Linked DNA regions of Homo sapiens: all the other regions are linked to region 3. Evidence: promoter capture Hi-C in 16 types of primary human blood cells and fetal thymus (Javierre and others, 2016). All regions are on one chromosome and are shown on one strand. Each heading gives the region's core, a stretch centred on a gene start or on the middle of the fragment in contact. The rest is flanking DNA. Distances are from core to core; before and after follow the strand shown.

Evidence for each region. The method cuts DNA at HindIII sites, captures the fragments that hold promoters and counts their contacts. A CHiCAGO score of 5 or more calls a contact.
Region 1: a contact is called between a fragment that was not itself captured here and the fragment with the promoter of GTF3C2-AS1 in region 3, in 1 of 17 cell types (naive B cells). The highest score is 5.0, in naive B cells.
Region 2: a contact is called between the fragment with the promoter of TMEM214 here and the fragment with the promoter of GTF3C2-AS1 in region 3, in 5 of 17 cell types (naive B cells, non-activated CD4 T cells, total B cells and 2 more). The highest score is 7.2, in naive B cells.
Region 4: a fragment that was not itself captured here is called in contact with the fragment with the promoter of GTF3C2-AS1 in region 3 in 1 of 17 cell types (naive B cells); the score reaches 5.0 in naive B cells.

The regions. Positions count from the first base shown.
Region 1 is chr2:26,949,453-26,952,775 of GRCh38, forward strand. It overlaps DPYSL5 (dihydropyrimidinase like 5), which reads left to right. Exons shown (of 13, transcript NM_020134.4): 13 at 1-899. It overlaps LOC124905979 (a long non-coding RNA gene), which reads right to left. Exons shown (of 3, transcript XR_007086251.1): 3 at 1,063-1,129. Among named protein-coding and RNA genes, the nearest start is that of MAPRE3, 20 kb to the right of the region's middle. RefSeq lists an enhancer at 117-617. The HindIII fragment of the contact is 3,029 bases long and covers 151-3,179 here.
Region 2 is chr2:27,031,148-27,034,381 of GRCh38, forward strand. It overlaps TMEM214 (transmembrane protein 214), which reads left to right and starts at 1,818. Exons shown (of 17, transcript NM_017727.5): 1 at 1,818-2,019; 2 at 2,920-3,119. The coding sequence starts at 1,869. RefSeq lists an enhancer at 1,441-1,730. The HindIII fragment of the contact is 3,121 bases long and covers 1-2,593 here.
Region 3 is chr2:27,333,931-27,337,028 of GRCh38, forward strand. It overlaps GTF3C2-AS1 (GTF3C2 antisense RNA 1), which reads left to right and starts at 1,612. Exons shown (of 4, transcript NR_038427.1): 1 at 1,612-1,790; 2 at 2,362-2,540. It overlaps GTF3C2 (general transcription factor IIIC subunit 2), which reads right to left. Exons shown (of 19, transcript NM_001035521.3): 8 at 2,268-2,495; 9 at 1,987-2,098; 10 at 1,668-1,776; 11 at 44-69. The HindIII fragment of the contact is 18,359 bases long and covers 1-3,098 here.
Region 4 is chr2:27,054,518-27,057,638 of GRCh38, forward strand. AGBL5 (AGBL carboxypeptidase 5) reads left to right here. Exons shown (of 15, transcript NM_021831.6): 5 at 113-290; 6 at 558-736; 7 at 1,165-1,621; 8 at 2,106-2,275; 9 at 2,786-2,921. Among named protein-coding and RNA genes, the nearest start is that of AGBL5, 4.4 kb to the left of the region's middle. The HindIII fragment of the contact is 155 bases long and covers 1,755-1,909 here.

The sequences.
Region 1 (3,323 bases), core at 415-2,914, 380 kb before region 3:
GGGGAAACCATGACGCCGCCTCCTGGTGCAGTGCACACCATCTCTATCCCTGTCAGCCCTCACTGGGTCATGGGCCTTGGGCAGATGTCAAAGAGCCCAGCAGCAGCGGTGGTGGCCAGCTGGGCAGAGCATCCTTGCTTGGGCTAGGAAAGCTTTACCTTCTCTGAGTGCCTCCGCCTGAGAGATGTGTGACCCGTGGCACCAGGGAACCACGTCTTGGAGTGGTCCACTGTAGGCCATGCGCTTCATCCACCCCCAGTCCCTACATAGGCCCTACCCTTGCCCGGGAGCTTCTAGATAGAAATCAGAAAGAGATTCAAGGAGCCAAATGAGCGGTCAGCCCCCACCATGCACTCCTTGCCCCGTGCAGAGCTCCAGCCAGCTTCGTCACCAGCCCCACTGGCTCCTGGTTGGAACGAAAGGGTCTCTGGTTGCACTGAATGCAGCTCTCAAACTGGTCTTGTACTTGCTGAATAAATACTGTTGTTCTTGCCTTAGCTGCTCTCTAGGTTTGTGGGGTTAAGTTGCCAGAAAATTGTGCTACTGTGTGTGCGTGTGCGTGCGTGTGTGTAGTGCTAGGAGTCCACAGTAGGTCTCTGTCAAGCCGATGTCGTGATGAGGGCTTTTCTGATACTGACCCAGAAGCCACAGAACCACAAGGAAACCCAAACCCCCTCCAGCTGCTGAGGCGCAGGCACAGCCTGGGGTCGGATGGAGCCTCCAGCACCCCAGCACCCAGGTGACTTCCCCACTCCCCTGTAAATGTCATGGTGCTAAGACTGTGTCAACCCCAAGACGACACATGGTCCTGTGCTTTGGCCACCGTTTGAGGCAAAAACTAAACAGCCCGACACGTTGTGTTCTGGTGCAGGTTTGTATTAAACTGTAGCTACTTCTCACTTGGACTCTGTTGTGTTTCTTCAAAGAGGAGGGAGTTTGGCAGAGATCTCTTCTACGGTGGCTGGGCAAGGCTTCAGTTGCTAAGAAAAGGCAGCTTTGATCTGTCTCTCCTATTGGGTGGCAGCTCACTGGGAGGCTTGTGCAGAGACTGGATTTTTTTTTTTTTTTAATTCTGAGAGACAGGAGCCCCAGTGGTGCCAGATTTCCAGGGACAAGGTTGCCAAATTATCTGAAATAATTAGGAGGAAGAATTAGATGCAAAAGGGAAAAAAACTAGACTCACTCCATCTACCTATAGTCGCGTATTCTCTTGGCTACCATTTTGGAAGCCCATAGCCACCTCTCCACTCGGCAGAACGTTTGGCTGATGGAACGATGGCCTCATAAAAAAAAAAAATCACAAGACAAAGCGCTGTCCCAAGGCCAATATGCCTTTGAAGGACCTTCCAGCTGCTCTCCGGCTGTCTAGAACCCCGCTTTTGGAGTTGGCCCTCTGTAGTCTCAACCCCATCCATTGCATTGAGACCCCTCTACCTTCCCTCTAGAGCTCAGTCAGATGTTAGGAGGATTATCTGATTAAACTCTTTCACACTAAAGGGTAAAACTGTGGCTTCTAAGGCCGGGTGCTGTGGCTCATGCCTGTGATCCCAGCACTTTGGGAGGCCGAAGCGGGTGGATCACCTAAGGTCAGGAGTTTCAGACCAGCCTGACCAACATGGAGAAACCCCGTCTCTACTAAAAAAAATACAAAATTAGCCAGGTGTGGTGGTGCATGCCTGTAATCCCAGGTACTCAGGAGGCTGAGGCAGGAGAATCGCTTGAACCCGGGAGGCGGAGGTTGCAGTGAGCCAAGATCGCGCCATTACACTCCAGCCTGGGCAACAAGAGTGAAGCTCTGTCTCAAAAAAAATAAAAATAAAAATAAACTGTGGCTTCTAGTACTATGTGGTCACTGTACTTATTTCTTAACATTAAAATTCGAAGGTTGAGATGGATTTGCCAGCTTGAGATGGATGCCGAGTCCCTGCAATGTATTGGGCCAAAGTGTCTGTTACCCTGTTTTCCCACAACAGGAGAGCACACCAGAATTGGGTTAACTGCCAAAAATCCATTGGGTTTGGATGAAAAAAATAATATGACCACACATTTGGCACAAGGCGTCTATCAGGCAGTCTACAGGGAAAAAATAAAAGATACCCAGGAAGACATAGGGTGCCTTTTTATGTATGTAGTTGTAGAAAAATCAAAGACCACAGACTCAGACTTTAAAATAAGGCTTGATCATTTATGAGAATCCGGATTTGGAGAAACCACACCAGTCAGCAGCTAGGCAGCCACCAGCCTCTATTTTCTAACTCAGAATTACAGACTGACCTCTGTACACCGGTAGAGACTAACGCTAAGAATTGCATTGTGGTCGGCCAGTCACAGTGGCTCACGCCTGTAATCCTAGCACTTTGGGAGGCCAAGGCGGGAGGATTGCCTGAGCTCAGGAGTTCAAGACCAGCCTGCGCAACACAGTGAAACCCAGTCTCTATTAAAATACAAAAAATTAGCCGAGCGTGGCGGTGGGATCACACCACTGCACTCCAGCCTGGGCGACAAAGCGAGACTGTCTCAAAAAAAAAAAAAAAATTGCTTTTTAGTCAGTGGAAGACACAGGGTCTCATGACACCCAGGTGTGAAGAAGAAACCTCATGATATGTAGGGGCTGGTAGACCTTAGAGTCCTAAGTTAATAACAGGCTATTTGACAGTGTTGTAACAACAGACATTTGAAAGGGCTCTTAGAGCTTTCCCAGTAGAACAGTAAAGGATCTGGCATTTTGCTGACACTGGGTACTGTCTTATGATGGAAAGTGAGTTCTTTACTTTCCCTTCTGGATTTACAACCATACATTTAGAACTAGAGGGACCAGATGTCTTGGTTTGCTCAGGGCAATCCTGGTTTAAGTCTATTGCCCCAGAATAATTATTAACAGTGTCCACTTTCACTGTCAAACATGTCCTGGTTTGTATAATAAATTACATGGTCACTTTCTGTATACCTATACATTCATTGGGCTATTACTGTGCCTGTCCAGGAGTTAAAAATTTTTCCATTGCTGAAAGACAAGACATGGCATTGTAAGAGATGCGGAAGATGGGTCCTTCCACAGTGGGTGGTGACTTAGGGGTTTGCATGACAAGCCCAGCGTCTTCACACAGCTCTTGGAGGCTTGATGAGTCTCAGTAGCCGGGGATGCCACAGGGTGGGGAAGGCCTGCAAATGCTTTTCTAAGCTTTTTCAGTTTGCCTCGTAGACCTCATTGTTCCATTAGAAGCTGTAACCCTACCAAATTCTATCATTTGCTTTTAAGGTGACTTTGATTCCATTTATGAACTTGAACACCTTACAACATTTTCAACTACATTTAAAATTTG
Region 2 (3,234 bases), core at 568-3,067, 300 kb before region 3:
CGATTCTCCTGCCTCAGCCTCCCAAGTAGCTGAGATTATAGGCCTGCGCCATCATACCTGGCTACTTTTTTGTATTTAGTAGAGATGGGGTTTCACCATGTTGGCCTGACTGGTTTCGAACTCCTGACCTCAGGTGATACCCACCTCGGCCTCCCGAAGTGCTGGGATTACAGGCGTGAGCCACGGCGCCCGGGGAACCAATGAAAATGCTATTTCTCAGAACCTATCTCAGCTGCCGTCTCCTTCGGGAAGCTAAACTCCTTCCTAAGGAATGCATCGCTCCCTCAGCTGTTCATCCTGTAGGAATTTGGACTCTCTTAGTTCTTATCATAATACCTCAGTATGGCAGGTAGGAATCTCATCCTCACACACAGTTGTACATGAAATAGCACATTTCCTTAATTGTGATAAGTCACTTTGATTTTATCTTCCCTCATTCTCCTCTGCTGGCATGCTTCAAGGTTCTGAAGGCTCCCAGGATACTAACACCCTCCACGTGGATGTCTGAGCAGGAACCTGTCTGCAGATGCCTCAAGTCTGGGGCTCTCCATCGCTTCCCTGACACATCTGGAACTTGGGATTGACTCTTATGGTGGGAGGCAGAGCCTGTTCTTTCTCATTGCCTGGAAGGGGAAACCCGGCCCTGGCTGTCCCAGACCCCCAGACTTTTCTCAGCCTCCCATGAGAAGAACTCAGAGGCCAGGAGCGGTGGCTCACTCCTGTAATCCCAGCACTTTGGGAGGCTGAAGAGGGTGGATCACTGAGCCCAGGAGTTTGAGATCAGCCTGGGCAACACAGCAAAACCCAGTCTCTACAAAAAATACCAAAGATTAGCCGGGGGTGGTGGTGGGTCAGGTGATCCGTGGTGGGGGATCACCTGAGCCCTAGAAGTTGAGGCTGCAGTGAGTCGTGATCGCGCCACTGAACTCCAGCCTGGGCGACAAAGCAAGATCCTGTCTCAAAAAAAAAAAAAAAAATTATTCTCCATTCTCCACCTCCTACCCCAGCTCCCCAACACTCTGCCCTTTCCTCAAGCCCCCATCCTCTTCCTTGTTCTTTGGCAATAGATTTGTATAGCCCATTAAACCCGAGGTTTAATCACTAGCAACAGTAAAGCCAGCACTTTCCTAGAAGGAAGGAAGCATTTAATCTTCAATCTCTCCCTAGATATGAGGAGCACTACTTCCCTTCCATCCTTCCAGCTCTACGAGAAAGGAAAGAAAAACAGTGGCCGGGCGCCGTGGCTCACGCCTGTAATCCCAGCACTTTGGGAGGCTGAGGGGTGGGGGTGGGGTGGGTCACTTTAGGTCAGGAGTTCGAGACCAGCCTAGCCAACATGGCGAAACCCCGTCTCTACTAAAAATACAAAAATTAGCTGGGCTTGGCAGCGGGAGCCTGTAGTCCCTGCTACTCGGGACGCTGAGGCACGAGAGTCGCTTGAACCTGGGTGGCGGAAGTTACAGTGAGCTGAGATCGCGCTACTGCACTCCAGTCTGGGCGACAGAGCGCGGCCCTGGCAATCAATCAATCAATTGATCAATAAAGGAAAGAAAAACAGAAACAGTTCTACCAAGTCTCTCAATGCCGTGGCCTTCACATCGACGCTCAATGAACGTTCTCAGAAGGGAATCTCCTCTCCTCCCGGCCTCTTCGCCTGGGCGGGGGCCGCAGGCTGCCGCGGAAGCCTCTTCCCGATGCTCTTCGCTCAGGAGAGCCCGGCCCAGGAGAGGGACTACAAGTCCCAGGCTGCCTTGCGGCGGGCGCCGGGCGCCGGGCGCGCGGTCCTGCGAGGAGACGTGGCAGAGTGCGGCGCGCTCGCGCCGGACCGGAAAGCCGGGGAAGTGGCCGAGGAGGGAGGGCTGCGAGCCATGGCGACCAAGACGGCGGGCGTGGGGCGGTGGGAGGTAGTGAAGAAGGGTCGGCGGCCTGGGGTCGGCGCCGGCGCCGGCGGCCGAGGAGGCGGCAGGAACCGCAGGGCGCTCGGGGAAGCAAACGGAGTGTGGAAATACGACCTGACCCGTGAGTACCCGCCCTGCCCCGCCGCCTACCCCAGGCCTGTCCGGCAGGGTCGCAGCGAGCGGCTCCCAGAACCTGGGCGCGAGCTCGCAGGCACATCCCCGAGCGCCACGCTTGCGTTGTCTCTTTGGAGCCTCACGGGAGGCAGACAGCTCCAGGGAAGGTTGCGGTCCTCACCTCCCAGATGAGTAAACTGAGGCCCAGTGAAGTTGGATACCTTGGCCAGGGTCATGTGTCAGAGGGGCTAGGATTCCGGTCCTCAGACTCTCAGTTCACTGCACACACTCTCCCAGCTGCCCAGGGCCCTAGCTGGTCTCTCTGGGCAGGTGTCTGAGCTTTGAAGAGGTACTGTGGATCATTATACACGGTGCCCCCTCTTTAAGTAACCAGCAGGTCATGGAGGAAGGGACAGGAGGCCCAGCAGTGGGAGAAATGACCGCCACACACTCAACACTCACCAGGAATTATAAGTGACACCTGGTTCTTCCACTGAGGAGTGGAGAAAGATTGCCACTTGTTGATTATAGAGTTGTCATGTCGGAACCAAGAGGCGTTAGGGTAGGACCAAGATGGAAAAAGCTTGTCTTCCCAGACTAGTAGCCACTCACTGAATAAGGCAAACCTCTATATCCAACCTCTCTGCTTGTTCCTACATACTCTGATTTGTCTAATGAAGAACTGCCCCATCTTTATGAAAGAGCCCATAGACTCAAGAGCTGTAATGAAAGAAGCTACCAGGAGAACAGCCTGCCCTGCTCCTTAAGCAGTCCAAGAGGAAGGGGCTTTGAGACAGGCTCTTCCCTGGAGATGAATTAGGTGGCAGTGTGGGGAAAGGGACCACTGATAGGTGAGGCCTTGGGGACTCAAGGGTGGCCTGCCTTTCTCTACCTATCTTCACCCCAGCTGCAATCCAGACCACAAGCACCCTTTATGAGCGGGGCTTTGAGAATATCATGAAGCGGCAGAATAAGGAGCAGGTCCCACCCCCTGCTGTGGAACCTAAGAAACCAGGGAACAAGAAGCAGCCAAAGAAGGTGGCAACTCCTCCCAACCAAAACCAGAAGCAGGGCCGCTTCCGCAGCCTGGAGGAAGCACTGAAAGCTGTGAGTGTGCCTAGACATGAGACGCAGAAAGAATGGGGGCTTGAGATTTAGAGAAGATGAGAGGAGGGGGAGGTGGATGGGCAGCTGAGATCCTATGGGATTTGAAACACTTTAA
Region 3 (3,098 bases), core at 362-2,861:
AAGAAGATGGAGCCTCAGCTAAGGTAGCAGGTTCCTCACTCACCTTATATATGGCAGGCTTCACTGCATCTGTGAGGAAAAAGAGCAGGAACTAACTCTATGGATCCCAAGGACTCAGCAGGTCTTACTCTGTCACCCAGGCCCGAGTGCAGTGGCATGATCATGGCTCACTGCAGCCTCCAACTCCTGGGCTCAAGCAATCCTCCTGCCTCAGCCTCCCAAAATGCTGGGATTATAAGTGTGAGCCACCATGCCTAGCCAGGCCTTGCCTTTTTTTTTTTTTCCTTTAGACCTCCTCTGTGGACACAGGCCTTCTCTTAAATCAGCAACCAATCCTTTGAATAATGACATTCCCTTATCCTTTATTGAGAAAGTCCTTATCTTTTCATCACCAAATTTATGAACCTACCTCTATCTGTTCCCATCTTCTTTCCTTCTGTTACACCTGATAGTATCCTTCCTCCTATCAGAAGAGCAATCCCTTCACTCTACTCTCTTCTCATCCTCTAGCACCTTTTCCAGAACACTGCTCATTCTGTTATCCTCCTTCCTCCTGTGTCATCCACTTGTTCCCTCCCTAGTCTAGGTCACTCCCATATTGCTATGTGAACATGCCCTAATGTCTCCTATCCAAATAAAGGGACAAAACCTTCCTTTATTGACCACACTTAGGCAATCCACCACCCTCAATTACTGGTTCCCCTTCACAGCGAAATTTTTTTTTTTTTTTCAGACAGCATCTCACTAAGCCGCCCAGGCTACAGTGCAGTGGCACAATCTCAGTTCACTGCAGCCTCAACCTCCTGGGCATAAGTGATCCTCCCACCTCAGCCTCCCAAGTAGCTGGGATTACAGGCATGCACCACTATGTTCGGCTACTTTTAAAAATTTTTTTGTCGAGACGACATCTCATTATATTGCCCCAGCTGGTCTCAAACTCCTAGGCTCAAGCAATCCTCCCACCTAGGCCTCGCAAAGTACTGGAATTAAGGCATGGACCACCATGCCCAGCCCCACAGCCAAACTTCTTGAAAGAATGGTCTATATTTACTATCTTTACTTTCTGACCTTCTATTACCTCCTCAACCCACTCCACCAGACCACCACATATGGGACTTCCCAGGGCTCCAGCCTGGGTGCCCTCTTCTTTAAATACTCAGTACTAATGAAAAATAAATTCAACATATAGGAGCTGCCTTTTCCTGACTCCTCCCTCCTTTTGCTCATCTTCAGCTCTCTATTCCATCCCTCTCTTCAGCAGAACAAGAGATTGTGTTTGTGTGGTGGTGAGGGCAGGAGAGGCTAAGAACAGGATTGGGGGAACAAGAGTATAGCAGGGGAGATGGGCCCTATCTATCAGCCCAAGCCCTCAGCAGCTCTTTACACAGCCAGTTACCTGTGGCAGCAAGAGGGGGAAAGTCTTGAGAGCACAGAAGAGGGAAGAAGGGGGAGATAAAAGGAAATGTGCTGAAAGAGTACAGCTGTAAGACTGCAAAAGAGAGAGGGCTCAAGAACAAACCTGAGTCACAATGCAGGGTGTGTGTGTGGCTGAGTAAGGCTTTGTGCTAAGAGAGACTGGCCCAGAGGAGTTTCCAGGGAGACAGACAGGCCCTGCTATGCTGTGACCACCACTACAGCAGCCCCATTCTCCTTGCTGTGCTACTCACCTGGGGGTTGCTGAGCCAGCAGGGCCTCCGGATGGGGTAGACTGAATAGCAGTACTTTCCCGTCTGAGCAGGCCAGAGCCAAGAGACCCAACCGGGGCAGGAGAGGAGCCTAAAGGGTAAAAGGTATGCTGAGGCTTGCTGCCTTCAGCTGACTCACAGAAAACCTTTGAGGTTCTAGTCCCTGAAATACTGTATGAAGTTGCTGGAAAAACTCCATCCACTACACTCCAACCTTCGTTCCTTCAACTCTAAGAATTCCCAGGGCCTCTTTGTCCTGGCTTTGAGTCCTAGGGCCATCCCACAGTTGACTGGGAAGTACCTTCCGAGGGGTGCCTGGAAGTTCCCATGCTCCACTGGGGCAGAACTTGAGGTCCCAGATGCAGCCGTTGTCACAAGCAATCCCATAGACAAAGTGGGCCCTGTTGCCAGGACTGGAGAGAGAGAGCATGTGGGGATGGTGGGTAGGAAGAAGGGACGCAGGGCTGCCAGAGGTAAGCTCCCCTTGTCTCAGCCCAATCCAAGCCCTTCCCCCTATCCTGTCCAGACCCCATCCTGCTGTCCTCAACCACCCTCCCATGGCAGTGTCCAACCCCACCTCACCAGCTTTCTTGCTGCAAGGTCCCAAGGCCCCAGAGCTGGAGCAGCCCAGGACCCGAATGAAGCTGGCTCAGTGGGTGTGTCTCATTCATGTCAGGGCTGGAGAAAAGAGCCACATATTGCGAGGCTCCTGCCCCCTCTGGCACTGGGCACCAGTCCAGAGCCCAGAGCGGTCCCCCCGTGAAGAAGGACACATCCCAGCGCTCTGGATGTGCTGTGATCGAGCTAAATCTAGAGAAAAATCAAAGATGGGATGAAGAAAGGAATTAATGAAAGGTAATGAGGACTGAATGGGCGCTCCACCCAGAGCCAGTATGAACTGGCTCAAGCAAGAGCCTGAATATCAAAAACAGTTTACAAGTGAGAACAGAGTCCTTGGCTTCCACTTGTATCTTCCTCCTTTCCTTCCCAAAGTCTGTCTTATATTATTATTATTTGAGATGGGGTCTGTCACCCAGGATGGAGTGCAGTGGCATGATCGACGGTTCACTGCAGCCGTGACCTCCCAGGCTCAAGTGGTTATCCCACCTCAGCCTCTGGAGTAGCTGGGACTACAGGCATATGCCACCATACCCCACTAATTTTTAAATTCTTTGTAGAGATAGGGGTCTTGCTATGTTTCCTAGGCTGGTCTTGAACTCGTGGGCTCAAGTAATCCTCCCTTTTTGGCCTCCCAAAGTGCTGAGATTACAGGTGTGAGCCACCACACCCGGCCTCCAAAGTCTGTCTAACTCCAGCTCATCTTCAGGGCTGTTCATTCTGGCATACTATAGTAGTCTCCCTAAGGCTAGTCTGTCCAGGTCTATCTGAGTAGATGTAACCTTGTGAACTGCT
Region 4 (3,121 bases), core at 582-3,081, 280 kb before region 3:
CCCAAAGGTTAGGGTGAAGGACCAGATTTTACAGATCCTGGGCTGGTGACAAGGCCTACCTCTTACTAGGACTTTAGGGACTTCTCCTGGCTTAATTTTTTTTTCCCTGTAGCCCCCTGGATACCATCTATTACCATCGGGAGCTCCTTTGCTATTCTCTGGATGGACTTCGTGTAGATCTGCTGACGATCACTTCCTGCCATGGGCTTCGAGAAGATCGAGAGCCCCGTCTAGAGCAGCTATTTCCTGATACCAGCACCCCTCGACCATTCCGTTTCGCAGGCAAGAGGGTGAGTGGAAATAGCATAAAGGTAGTTCTTTGGCTTTTCTCTAGCACCAGGTACTGTTTATAGCTAAAGACTATGTTATCTCTAGGCATCTTGGACATGGCCTCCGCCCGCAGCGTGCGGCAAGGGTGATGGCCCCTGCTCCACTTGCAGATTCAGCCAGCTGGAAATCCAGCGGCTATTCCTGCCTCATCCATGACACCCCCCATATACTGTCAAAGTAGAACTACAGGGTAACTGACTTAATGTCTGCTCTCCTCTCTACCTCAGATATTCTTCTTAAGCAGTAGAGTACACCCAGGGGAGACTCCATCTAGCTTTGTCTTCAATGGCTTTCTGGACTTCATCCTCCGACCTGATGATCCCCGGGCCCAAACCCTCCGTCGCCTCTTCGTCTTTAAGCTGATTCCCATGTTGAACCCCGATGGTGTGGTCCGGGGACACTACCGGTAAGTGGCTTCCCCAGCCTGTCTGGACTGTTCCCATTTCCCCTCATGCCCTGCATCTCAGTGAAATTCTGTCAGCCTTCTGGCTTCTGTGTTCCCAGTCCTCTTGCACCCTAATAAAGGCAAGCCCATCTCATCTTCCTGAGAAAGCATGAGATCATATCTAGTGGCACTCCCAGAAAGGAACCAAACTAGGATGACTGCAGGCCCATCTGGGTGGAGGCAGCTACCCTGAGGAAGCTCCTTAGGGTTCTATGGTAAGGGTGACAGCAGATCAAAGAGAGGCCCTGTCTTCAATTCTTTCTTTCCTAACATAGCTTCAGCCTCTCATTTGATAAGTCAGTCTCCTACGGTCTCCTTTTCATCTACACTAGTGTCTCCTTCACTGGCCCAGTCCTCTAGAACCTGCTTCAGTCCTTGTTTTCCTACAGCACAGACTCACGTGGAGTGAATCTGAACCGTCAGTACCTGAAGCCTGATGCCGTCCTGCACCCGGCCATCTATGGGGCCAAAGCTGTGCTTCTCTACCACCATGTGCACTCTCGTCTGAACTCCCAGAGTTCCTCTGAGCACCAGCCCAGTTCCTGTCTCCCTCCTGATGCTCCTGTTTCTGACCTGGAGAAAGCCAACAATCTCCAAAATGAAGCTCAGTGTGGGCACTCAGCTGACAGGCATAACGCTGAAGCCTGGAAACAAACAGAGCCAGCAGAACAGAAGCTCAACAGTGTGTGGATTATGCCACAACAGTCTGCGGGGCTTGAAGAGTCAGCCCCTGATACCATCCCCCCCAAAGAGAGTGGCGTTGCTTACTATGTGGACCTGCATGGACATGCTTCCAAAAGGGGCTGCTTCATGTACGGAAACAGCTTTAGTGATGAGAGCACCCAGGTGGGAATCCTAAGAATGTCATGTGAGTGTGAGAAGTGTTACAGGTTAGGAGATGGGGTTAGGCCATGAACAGAAGGAAGATAGCCTTAGGTAGCTTTCTGGAAGGAAGGCCTGTGTAGACTACCTCTGAAAAAGCTTTGAAGGGCCAAGAAGAGATGGCACAGGGGGATAATGTCTCAATTGTTACATCATGACCTTTTATTAAGGAAAGCTAACTGCATTATAGTCTGCTAGAGTCTGGGAATCCAGAGAAGGAAAATTTTGCATTGTTGGAGGGAGGAAGCTAAAAGCTTAAAAAAAAAAGAATTGCTTCCCAACACCTAGAAGTAATGTCAAACTGAGAATTCAGGCAGCACTGATTACTGTTAATGGTTGTGATGGTATCTGCTGTGTATTAAGTCACATGGTCACATACTTGCTATCTCTTCCTTGCACCTTGTCCCTTCTGTCTCTCCTTCTGAGTTGACTTTTCTTCCCCAAACAGGTGGAAAACATGCTATATCCAAAGCTCATCTCCTTGAATTCAGCCCACTTCGACTTCCAGGGCTGCAATTTCTCAGAGAAGAATATGTATGCCCGAGACCGTAGAGATGGCCAGTCTAAAGAGGGAAGCGGCCGTGTTGCAATCTACAAAGCCTCAGGGATAATCCACAGGTTGGGTGGAAGCTGAGATATAGTTGATGAAATAGCTTCCCTAAAGAAAACACCGTAGCTGGGTGTGGTGGTGCATGCTTGTAATCCCAGCTACTGAGGAGGCTGAGGCAGGAGAATCGCTTGAACCTGGGAGGCAGAGGTTGTGGCGAGCCGAGATCGTGCCATTGCACTCCAGCCTGGGCAACAAGAGCGAAACTCCGTCTCAAAAAAAAAACAAAAAACAACACCCAGTTCAGGGTGTTTGAGAGGGAGGGAACCACCTTAGTCTTCTTAAAAGAGAACCTCACAATTAGCATTATTGTCTTTAGTCTAGGACTCTACCTTGGGGGGACTCTCTGGGTATATGGTACAGTACCAAGGTCAGCTGCTAGTTGCTATGGATTATTAGCACTTTCATTTGTGTTCACTTTTTTCCAAGTGATTGCCTCCTTTGACCACCTAAGTTGTCCTCTATGGTTCTGTCCTGGTATCTGTTCAGGCGGGACACTGATAAAGGTCTTTATGTCTTAGCTACACACTTGAATGCAACTACAACACTGGACGCTCAGTAAACAGCATCCCTGCTGCCTGCCATGACAATGGGCGTGCCAGCCCCCCTCCCCCGCCGGCTTTCCCCTCCAGATACACTGTGGAACTATTTGAGCAGGTATGAATACATGGTGTAAGTGGGAAAAGGGAGAAACCTTACAGTCTGGAAAGGCCTTCACTCTTAGTGCCTGACTCTAAGGTCCTTTGAAGAGATATTCATCACTATGGCCGTCTCACCACTATGATTATTTTCCTCAGTTAACAGGAGCATAACTACAACTGTAATAGTATTGAAAGGATGAACAGGCACTATATCTG